Regions from separate parts of the Homo sapiens genome. Here region 2 is linked to region 1. The links are contacts of gene promoters, found by promoter capture Hi-C in human tissues and cell types (Jung and others, 2019). All regions are on one chromosome and are shown on one strand. The core of a region is centred on a gene start or on the middle of the fragment in contact, and the rest is flanking DNA. Distances in the headings are between cores, read along the strand shown. Region 1 holds the start of IFNGR2 (interferon gamma receptor 2). Region 2 overlaps OLIG1 (oligodendrocyte transcription factor 1).

What was found. Contacts are between HindIII fragments. The study calls those that stand out against the background at their distance.
Region 2: a contact is called between a fragment that was not itself captured here and the fragment with the promoter of IFNGR2 in region 1, in 2 of the 25 tissues and cell types used here (H1 embryonic stem cells and dorsolateral prefrontal cortex).

What each region holds. Positions count from the first base shown.
Region 1 is chr21:33,399,212-33,404,662 of GRCh38, forward strand. IFNGR2 (interferon gamma receptor 2) reads left to right here and starts at 4,202. Exons shown (of 7, transcript NM_005534.4): 1 at 4,202-4,405. The coding sequence starts at 4,333. RefSeq lists cis regulatory regions at 2,747-3,934, 3,319-3,934, 3,917, 3,927, 4,204 and 2 more, promoters at 3,150-4,306, 3,150-3,788, 3,160-4,327, 3,922-4,326 and silencers at 3,881-4,420, 4,431-4,510, 4,531-4,580, 4,721-4,770. The HindIII fragment of the contact is 6,342 bases long and covers 942-5,451 here.
Region 2 is chr21:33,071,867-33,076,774 of GRCh38, forward strand. OLIG1 (oligodendrocyte transcription factor 1) reads left to right here. Exons shown (of 1, transcript NM_138983.3): 1 at 1-547. Among named protein-coding and RNA genes, the nearest start is that of OLIG1, 4.2 kb to the left of the region's middle. The HindIII fragment of the contact is 4,648 bases long and covers 441-4,908 here.

The DNA.
Region 1 (5,451 bases), core at 2,952-5,451:
ATTGGTTATGGTGATCCTGCCCTCATGGATGGGTGGATTCATTCATGGACTAATGGGTTCATGGACCAATGGTTATCATGGGAGTGGGGCTGGTGGCTTTATAAAAGAGGGGATGGGCATGGTGGCTCACTCCTGTAATCCCAACACTTTGGGAGGCCGAGGCAGGTGGATCACTTGAGGTCAGTAGTTCAAGACCAGGGCAACAGGTGAAACACCAACTCTACTAAAAATACAAAAATTAGCCGGGTGTGGTGGCAGGTGCCTGTAATCCCAGCTACTTGGGAGGCTGAGGCAGGAAAATTGCTTGAACCCAGGAGGCAGAGGTTGCAGTGAGCCAAGATTGCACCATTGCACTCCAGCCTAGGCAACAGAGTGATACTCCATCTCAAAAGAAAAAAAAAAAAAAGAGGAAGATAAATCCGAGCACCTTAGCACCCTCAGCCCCCCTTGCCATGTGATGCCCTGACCACCTCATGACTCTGCAGAGAATCTCCACCAGCAAGAAGGCCCTCACCAGATTTAGTCCCTAGACCTTGGACTTCTCAGCCTCCCAAAATGTAAGAAATAAATGCCTTTTCTTTATCAATTACCCAGCTTCAGATATTCTGTTATAAGCAACAGAAAATGGACCAAGACACACACAAACATCCTTCCCTGCCCATGTTACCTCAGAACTTTTCAGGGAGGGGAATTCTAGGAAATGCAGTTACAGTTTAGCAGACCTACTGCAGTGCAAACCCACCACAGGCCAAGTCACTGAACTCTGCTAGTGTCCCCATGGGACAGCCATCGCCTGCCTAACTGGGAGGTCTGAGTGTTATAATACCTAGAGAAGCACCACTGGCCAGCAAAAAATGTTGGCTTCTTTCTGCCATCCCCCACCCACTCTCCTGAGGGAGGTGAGAGGAGTCCCTCTAGGCTATTAGAAATGCTTCAGGAAGATCAACTGATTACAAGGTAAGGAATTAATGGAAAGGGATGGTGCAGATTCAGGGTTTGTAGGGCTGAAGTGTATATAATAGATGGAGCCCTCTTTATAAACAAATACACAACTCACTATAAAATTAGGCACAAAAGTATTTCTTTTTCTTTTCTTTTTTTTTTTTTTTTGAGATGGAGCCTTACTCTGCACTCAGGCTGGAGTGCAGTGGTGCTGTCTCAGCTCACTGCAACCTCCATCTCCCAGGTTCAAGCAATTGTCATGCCTCAGCCTCCCAAGTAGCTGGGATTACAGGCACCTGCCACTATGCCTGGCTAATTTTTCTATTTTTAGTAGAGATGGGGTTTCACCATGTTGGCCAGGCTGGTCTTGAACTCCTGACCTCAGGTGATCCACCCACCTCGGCCTCCCAAAGTGCTGGAATTACAGGTGTGAGCCACCACATCTGGCCAAAAGTATTTCTTTAGAATGATATACAGGTTACAATTTTTTTTTTTTTTTTGAGACAGAGTCTTGCTCTGTGGCTCAGGCTAGAGTGCAGCAGCATGATCTCAGCTCACGGCAACCTCCACCTCCTGGGTTCATGTGATTCTCCTGTCTCAGCCTCCCAAGTAGCAGGGATTACAGGCACATGCCACCACGCCTGGCTAATTTTTGTATTTTTAGTAGAGACGAGTTTCACCATGTTGGCCAGGCTGGTCTTGAACTCCTGATCTCAGGTGATCCACCTGGCTCAGCCTCCCAAAGCGCTGGGATTAGAGGCGTGAGCCACCGCACCCAGCCATCAAAGATGTAACCTTGAAACAAACTGCAGAAGCCTTTTCCCTTAGCCTTAAAATGGACTCCATGTCCCTCCCTTCTTCACCGTATAAACTCCCTTCACATTTATCTAACTGTATGCCCGTGTCTAGTTACGTGCCTTCTTAGAGGTTCCAGACGCTAATCTTGAGACAGACAGACCAAGCCTGGAGATTCTTCTGCAAAATTCCACATGTGACCTCAAGGCGTCTAATTAAGAATCCAGCCATTGTTGAGATGATGCCAGACCACAGGCTTCCTGTGGACTAGGACCCAAGACAGCCACCGGAACAAGACAAACAGACAGTGTACTTAGCATAATCCTTGCCTGACTTCCACATCGTTTTCCCGTTTTAAACCCTTGCCTTGGCCGGGCGCGGTGGCTCACGCCTGTAATCCCAGCACTTTGGGAGGCCGAGGCAGGCAGATCACGAGGTCAGGAGATCGAGACCAACCTGGCTAACACGGTGAAAACCCATCTCTACAAAAAACACAAAAAATTAGCCGGGTGTGGTGGCGTGCGCCTGCAGTCCCAGCTACTCGGGAGGCTGAGGCAGGAGAATGGTGTGAACCCAGAAGGCGGAGCTTGCAGTGAGCGGAGATCACACCACTGCACTCCAGCCTGGGTGACGGAGACTCTGTCTCAAATAAATAAATAAATAAATAAATAAATAAATAAATAAATAAATAAAATAAATAACCCTTGCCTTTCCCACTCCCCATACCCCACAATTCAACGTGATTGCTTTGGGGATAGGAATCCAACCACTTCCCCTTGCTAGCTTTGGAAATAAAGTCACTTTCTTTCCACCACATCTTGCTCTTGTTAGACTCTGCAAGCAGCCAGCGACTGAACCAGCATTCGGTTACATCCCCTGAGGCGGATGACACTTGTGTGATCCTGTAACCGATTTCTTGTTAGAATGTTGGCATCTTTCACCCAGTCGTTTTCTTGTAATTTTATTTATTTGTTTGAAAACAGAATCCTTCTTGCAATCCTGTCATTTTCAGTGCCTTTTTTTTTTTTTTTTTTTTTTTTTTTTTTTTTTTTTTTTGAGACGGAGTCTCGGTCTGTCACCCAGGCCGGGGTGCAGTGGCGCAATCTCCGCTCACTACAACCTCCGCCTCCCGGGTTCAAGTGATTCTCCTGTCTTAGCCCTCCAAGTAGCTGGGATTACAGGCGCCGGCCACCACGCCTGACTAATTTTTGTATTTTTAGTAGAGACGGGTTTCAGCCATATTGGCCAGGCTGGTCTCCAACTCCTGGCCTCATGTGATCCGCCCACCTCGGCCTCCTAAAGTGCTGAGATTACAGGCGTGAGCCACCGCGCCTGGCATCAGTGCATACTTTTTGAAGTGATTCCAAGTTATCGCCCGCTTTTTTCGTGTAACATATAAATACATCTCTGTATCTAGAAATATCCAATGCATAATTCAATTGTCTGCGAGGTATTTCATCACGTATTTTCACGAGCGTGGCCAATTTCAAAATAGTTCTACAAAGAGGAAATGCAAGAATGTGGGAAGAGCAAAAGAAAAGCTCTATGTTGCAAAACCCATTTTTGCTAACGTGTCCAGTGGGCTCCCGGGACGACCTGTTTTTAAATTCTTGGTCTCCCTGCACCGCGTCCCTCCTTTGCTGCGCTAGCTTTATGACGCATCTTGGAAGAACAGGGCAGATTTAAAACCCTCTCCCAACAGGCGTCAAACGACATGGTGCAGGCTCGGGCTGGGGAGCGGGCCTGCGGCTGCCCAGCTGCTAAAGGACTTCCTACTCGTGCACCGCCGCCGGCTCCAGGGCAAACCCCACGCCATTTAGAAATGCTGGAAGTTTCTGTCTCTCCCTCCCCCTGCTCGGAGGCCATTCCCCCCACCCCCAGAGCCCCACCTCCTCCTTCACTGGGCCCTTTCTAACTCCTTCCCCTTAAAACCCTTTTCAAAATGGGGTTGACTGGAGGCGGAGGTTGCAGTGAGCCGAGATCGCCCCACTGCACTCCAGCCTGGTGACTCCGTCTCAAAAAAAAGGGGAGGGGGGCGGGGGAGAGTTGAAAGCTTAATATGTACTTTGGGGGCTATTAAAGCAAACATTTCGACTAAAGGGGCGAATCCTCGAATTGTGCGATCAAGCACCCGAGAGGAGAGTTGGGGGGGGTCAGGAGGGGTGGGGGCTCCAGGGAAAGCCCGGGGGTCTGGGCCGGGGTCTCGCGGGGCCCTTCCGGAAGGATCGCGGCCCCCGAAGGTGGGCGTCCCGCGGGGCTCCAGTCTCCAGGACGTTCCGGGAGGCTCCGCGCTCTGGGAGGCCGGCTGCGTGGGGTCCCCGCGCTGCAGCCGCAGAGGCCCCCCAGGGCCGCGGTTCCCGGAGCGGGAAAGTCCCGCGCGGGGGCGGTGGCCTCGGGGGCGGGACGGGGCGGGGGCGGGGGCGCGGGCGGCCGAGCCGAATCCCCTCCACCGGGACGCCCCGCTGCTGCTCGGGAAGAGGCGGGCCCTGCGCGCCCTGCGCTCGCCATGGCGGTTTGGGCGGCGACGTGAGCGGCTCCGCGGACCCCGAGCGGGGCCCCGGCCGCGACCTGAGCCGCCGCCGAGCGCCCGGGGCCATGCGACCGACGCTGCTGTGGTCGCTGCTGCTGCTGCTCGGAGTCTTCGCCGCCGCCGCCGCGGCCCCGCCAGGTGAGCCGGGCCTGGGCCTCCGCGGCGGGACGCGGGCGCAGCCGCAGCATGTGGGGGCTGGGGGACTCCCGGATCGTGGGGTGGGGGGAATCTGCCGGGTGCTCAGAGTGGGTGGGAATCTGCGGGGTGCTCCTGGTGGGTGGGATATGCGGAGTGCTCAGATCAGGTGGGAACCTGCGGGTGCCCCAGGTGGGGGTCTTGCGGGGTGCCCAGGGCTAGAGGGGCCCGCTGGGAGCCCGCAGCGGGGCTGGGATGGGCGGCCAGGAGTTCCAGACAGGAGCTGGGCAGCAGCAGGAAGACGGGGGGCACCCCTCCTGGCGTCCTGGCCGCCGGGACACCCCTCTCCGGGAGAGGACACTCGGTGCCCCTCCGTGAAGCCGGTAACCTCGGCTGCGCCACCTCCCCCACCCGCGCGCCCGCGCCGGGAAAGCCAGCGTGGCCCCAGTCTCCGAATTTCTCGGAATGAACAACAGCAAATTGAATCCAGGGCTCCGGCGGGGGCCGCCTTTGCTGGCCACTGGTTCTGCAGCCTGGCGAGACTGCGCTTAGTCCCCGCCTGGAGTGCCTCCCGAAGGCCTGGCTGGAAGCTAGACTCAGTCCCTTTGTAGTAGCAGCGGTGGAGCAGGGACCAGCGTCTTGGACGGGTGACCCAGACTCAATTCCGACTTTGGCCGAGGGCATGTTTGACACTGGGTGTGAAATCTAGACAGTTCCCGCGGTCATAGAGATGGGGCAGCAGCATTCAGGCAGGGCTCAGAACTGTCCGGGTCCCATCAGTGTTGGGGCGGAAGAGGAAGAGTGTCAACTGAGCCAGGCATTTATTTATTTTATTGTTGTTTGAGACAGGGTGTCGCTCTGTCGCCCAGGCTGGAGTGCAGTGGGCAGCATCTCAGCTACTGCAGCCTCCGCCTCCCGTGCTCAAGCGATCCTCCCACGTCAGCCTCCCAAGAAGGTGGTATTATTGGCCACGCCTGGCCAATTTTTGTATTTTTTGTAGAGAGGAGGTCTCACTGTGTTGCCCAGGCTGTTCTTGTACTCCTGAGCTC
Region 2 (4,908 bases), core at 1,515-4,014, 330 kb before region 1:
AGAACTCGAGATTCACCTTTCGTTTCCCTTTCCCCAAAAGTAGCGTAACCAACATTTAAGCTTGCTTAAAAACGAAAACCAACCGCCTTGCATCCAGTGTTCCCGATTTACTAAAATAGGTAACCAGGCGTCTCACAGTCGCCGTCCTGTCAAGAGCGCTAATGAACGTTCTCATTAACACGCAGGAGTACCGGGAGCCCTGAACCGCCCGCTGCTCGGCGGATCCCAGCTGCGGTGGCGACGGCGGGAAGGCGCTTTCCGCTGTTCCTCAGCGGGCCGGGCCCTTGACCAGCGCGGCCCGCAGGTCTTCCTTCTCGCCGTCTTGCAGTTGAAGAGCTACATACGTAGTCAGTTTCGATTTGTTACAGACGTTAACAAATTCCTTTACCCAAGGTTATGCTATGACCTTTCCGCAGTTTACTTTGATTTTCTATGTTTAAGGTTTTGGTTGTTGGTAGTAGCCGAATTTAACTGGCACTTTATTTTACTTCTAACCTTGTTTCCTGACGGTGTACAGAATCAACAAAATAAAACATTTAAAGTCTGATTTTTTACATTTTTTGTCTGATTTGTTTGGTAATAAAAAAGTCCTTGTATCCTAGTGGATTTAGAACCTTGGGGTGAAGGTAGGTAAATGACCGGGGTCCCAGGTTTTAAAATGTGACTTCCTGATTTGTAAAATAATCCAATGAACAGGCAACTGTAGTTCAAGTTCAGGCATTCGTGGGAAATATGAGGATTATAGGTAAGTGGGTGGGTGGGATAGAGAATGGGATAGAGAAGGGAGAGAGGCAATTCCAGGAATTCATTCTTTGCCAAGCTTCAGGCATAGGTCTTTTTTAACTACAACTTCATCCCCTGGAAAATGGGTTAAGCAATACCTTTATCATAAAATTGTAGCTCAACATCCTTCCAGGATATCCACCTTTTCTATATCCTTGGACAGAAGCTTAATACCACACAAGCATGAGCTTCCCGCTGCTGCACCCACCTACCCCTTATCATTTAAATCAGGTTGGAATTGTCTTCACCTAAGAGGTGAAGAAAGCTCTTCTGTCTGTTTGGTGCTCTTAAAAAGAATTTGGAAGGCTGACCTGCTCACATTGCAATAATGAAACACTGCATAATTATTAATGAAACCCAACCACTGTTTAATGTAGGGGAGTAGTAGAGAAGTAGTGTCCCCTTTAACCTGAGGAAAATTAAAGAAAACCCAGAGATGACTTACTCAATTTTATCCATGTTGGTTTATCTGAGGCATATACACATTTAGAGAAAATGAGCACCACTTTGGAGGTGGGGGAAGGAGGTGGGAGGTGGCTGGAGAGATGGCATTGCCCGGCTACCATGCTGTGTCTATTTCCTTAAGGAGAAGTCAGGACAGGGCATGGGAGAAGGTGCTCTGTGCACCAACTCATTCCAAAAGAGGATTTCTCATGCTTCCTAGACTCTGCCACCAGCAAAGTCACCACTTTTATAAAAAGTAGATTTGAACTCTGGCCTTCTGTTTATTCAATGCCTTTCCTTGCTTACCTTATATCTTGGCAAGGGGTAGGGGAAAAAAGTGAAAATCAATGAAATCAAAAGCAAATTAGGTTCTCCTTGAAACAAAAATACTTCTAAGGGATTAGAAACAAACAATTTCTCCCACTGTCCAACACCAGCACCTAGATGCCACTGTCATTCCAGACATCATCTCTAAAAGGAGCCCAAAGCTACAGGGCAGAAAATGGGTCTGCCCTTCTCTACCTGTAAATGGGAACAAGCCGCCCATGCCTTATAGGAAAAGTAACACTATATGTGTATGATTTTTTTTTTATTTAACTAAGAAAATCACAGCCTATCATGCTTTTCAGAAGGGCCAAAGGCTATAAATAAATTTAACAAGGACACACGGGGCTGTTTTGGGTGCCATCAAAATACTTATCTGCCTGCACGTAGCGTGCTTTTGGCCGTTGTGCCAAGCAAGATTAGCAGACTTGCTCTATAGAAGGAGTTTACATCCTAAAAAATAGTACCAGCAAGCATTGAAGAGTCCTGTAGGATGAAACAGATAAAAGGTAATTATATACAGTGTCCACAATGCAAAGTCAGACTGCTCAACATCTGTCTATGGCAGGGCAGTGTATTCTGCATGCAGAGTTTAAGCTTAGACATGTGTGTTCTAGAGCATGGAGCTGCTTTTAGAAATGTTCAGTGCTATGTCACGCCAGCAAAGGAGCTAGCTGAATTGTCCACCATACTTGATTTTAGCTGGAGTGGGCTTTGTTCAGAAGGAACAAGTGTAAGCTAGCCTTTGAAGGGTTTGGGACAGCTGGGAGGGTCTTAGTAAGGTTCCTCAAGAAAGGCACTCTAAGAGCTCAGAAGCAAGATGAGAAGGAACCCACGGCTCACTGCCAAAAAAGTTCCCTGCATCCAGCCAACCACCAAAGTGAGGTCCTGGCAATTAGAGTAAACTGAACCTAATGGGAAAATACACAAGGCCCTGAGAAATTATATTGTTATATATATTGGAGTCCAGGTGAGCAATCAGTAGACAGAGGGCAGAATCAATACACGATGGGATTTGCCTAGCCCGCAGTGATGGTCTACTTACAGATGTTCTCCTCTAAGGGAAACTGATGACACTAGACATAAAAATTTAACTTTGTGAAATATACAGCTTAGAGGGTAAGTGGCTGCTTCGAGGAAGAGGCTCCTCTCCAATCATGGAAAATGTTTCCACTTACTGAAGTTTAGAAGATGAACGACAATGCTTCCATCTTGCACTCCACTTTAAGGTGTTTGGTCTTTCCTGAATGCTTAGGTACGCAGGTGAGGCTGGGTACAAGAGAGCCTCAGCCTGCTAACTAGACCCCCTGGAGCCTCCTGTTGTGTTTAGGAAGCCAGCCAGGAAAAAAAGGGGCTTTTCTTTTCTGCCATAGAAGGATACCTGATGAACTTGCCAAGAGCAAGGTGATGGTTGGGAAGAGTCATTCAATTGACACTTTTGCTCCCTGGGTATGCAGTGCATTGACTAGGAAAGTATATTTCCCTCAGAAGGTATTTTCCTGCTTCTTCACTGCCTCTTTTCTCTTCTGCACACACAATAAATATTCAATAAGAAGATTACCACATTCACTGAAGTAGGCTCACAAAGCAATGGGGTGAAAAATGCCATGTTTTTCAAAAACATGAATTCACTTTTCTCCAGCAGATTTTTAGGTGTGGGGAAAGACGTTAGAAATACTGTTTCCAAGTAAGATCCAGTTAACGTGCAAAACTGGAGTAGCAAGATATTCCTCAAAACCTGCACACAAACTAGTCTCGTTATTTATGGAGACATCGGAAAATCATTCTTAAGGCAGTTCCCATTCTGTCATTTTTAACTAAGCCCAGCGTAAAAGCTGACATGCCTGAAAAGAAACCAAACCACATTCTTTCTGCTCACACGGGATTAGGAGCTCTCCGCAAACTCTCCCCCTTCCCTCCTGCTGCTGTTGACAGGCCAGGCTCTGAGCTCAGGACAAGGAGCTGAATATTCCAAGTCCTTAAACACTACAGGCTGCATGACGCTTTTGTGTGTGTGGGGGGGTGGGGGTGGGGGGGGAATGCCTTGATTGAAAGCAAAAAGAATGCATTCTACGTCCATGCTAAGCCTTCTGCGGTGACCACCGAGGACAGAGCACGCAAGTAGGCCACTACCTGGGACAAAGGCCGCAGGTACCAAATCATATCTGAGTCTCATGAATGCTGGCAGGCAAAGGCAGTTGCAAATCATCCATTCTCTCTTCTCCCTACTGAATAAGGCAACCGAGGCCCAGGATGGTCGGGAACCACAGTCAAAGCCACACAGGTGGTCAGAGGCAGTAATGCCAGGGACTAGCGCCTGCTTTGGGGAAGCACGGGCTGCTTCCTTGGTCTGTCCTGGTGAGACAAGGAATGGGAATCCCAACAGGAGGTCCCCACCCAGAGCTGAGCATGTTCTTCTGCCCTCCCCTGGAAAATCTCGGTCCTCTGGTCTCTTCCAGCCTCTCTGCTCAGCCTGTAGGCTGGCCCTGCTGGTGGCATCCAGGAGAGATAGGCTCAGGACAAATCCCTTGCTGGCTGACCTGACTGCAGTTGAGTCACCTGAACTTTCTCGGCAGCCTCGCCCCCTAGCCCCAAGAGAGGCCCAGACTGGTGACAGGGAGTGGCAGAGGCAAGGCCACCTCTGTGAGAGATCCTCTGACGGTTGCAGGTTTGTCATTCGAGTTTCTGAAAGTGAGCAAGCAGACGGCTGACAGACAAGGGCAGCAGGGTGCAAGGAGAAAACGGCTTCTGAAGGCACAGCTTCAGAGACTTTCTCCTCCTGGCTGCCTCACAGTGTTTTCATGTGGAAACTAGACATTCTGACCCTGCTGGAACCTGTGTCAACGTCGTCGGCATCTTTTTGTTGAGTGTTTTTCATGGACACGAGTGATTCCCCAACAGGCCCCTCTGCAGTGGTGGCCTGAAATAGAGGACAGACGCCCCTGACAGGCCCTGTACCTGGAGCACCAGTCCAAGGCAAGCCATGGGGCCCAGGAAACAGGCTCCCAGCACTGGGATTCAATAAGGGCTGTTGTGTCCCAGAAGCTTCTAAGTGATGTGGGTAGCTCCTTAGAGAATGCCAAAGTCATAGGACCTGGAGACTTCAAAATCACAAGAGCAGATGAGAAGACTTGTCTGTGAGGTTAAAAAGAAAGAAAAAAGAAAAGCCAACTCACCTGGGGGCAGGCAGGTGGGAAGGAGAAGCTACTCTGCAGAAATGGCAGAGCATTACTACCAGAAATAAAAATAACAATGGTGCTGATAAGAGCTCATTGTGTTATCGGGCACCAAGCAGGGTTGTAAGCATTTTACATGCATGCTTTCATTTTGTAGGCACCAGCGTTATCCCCATTTTAC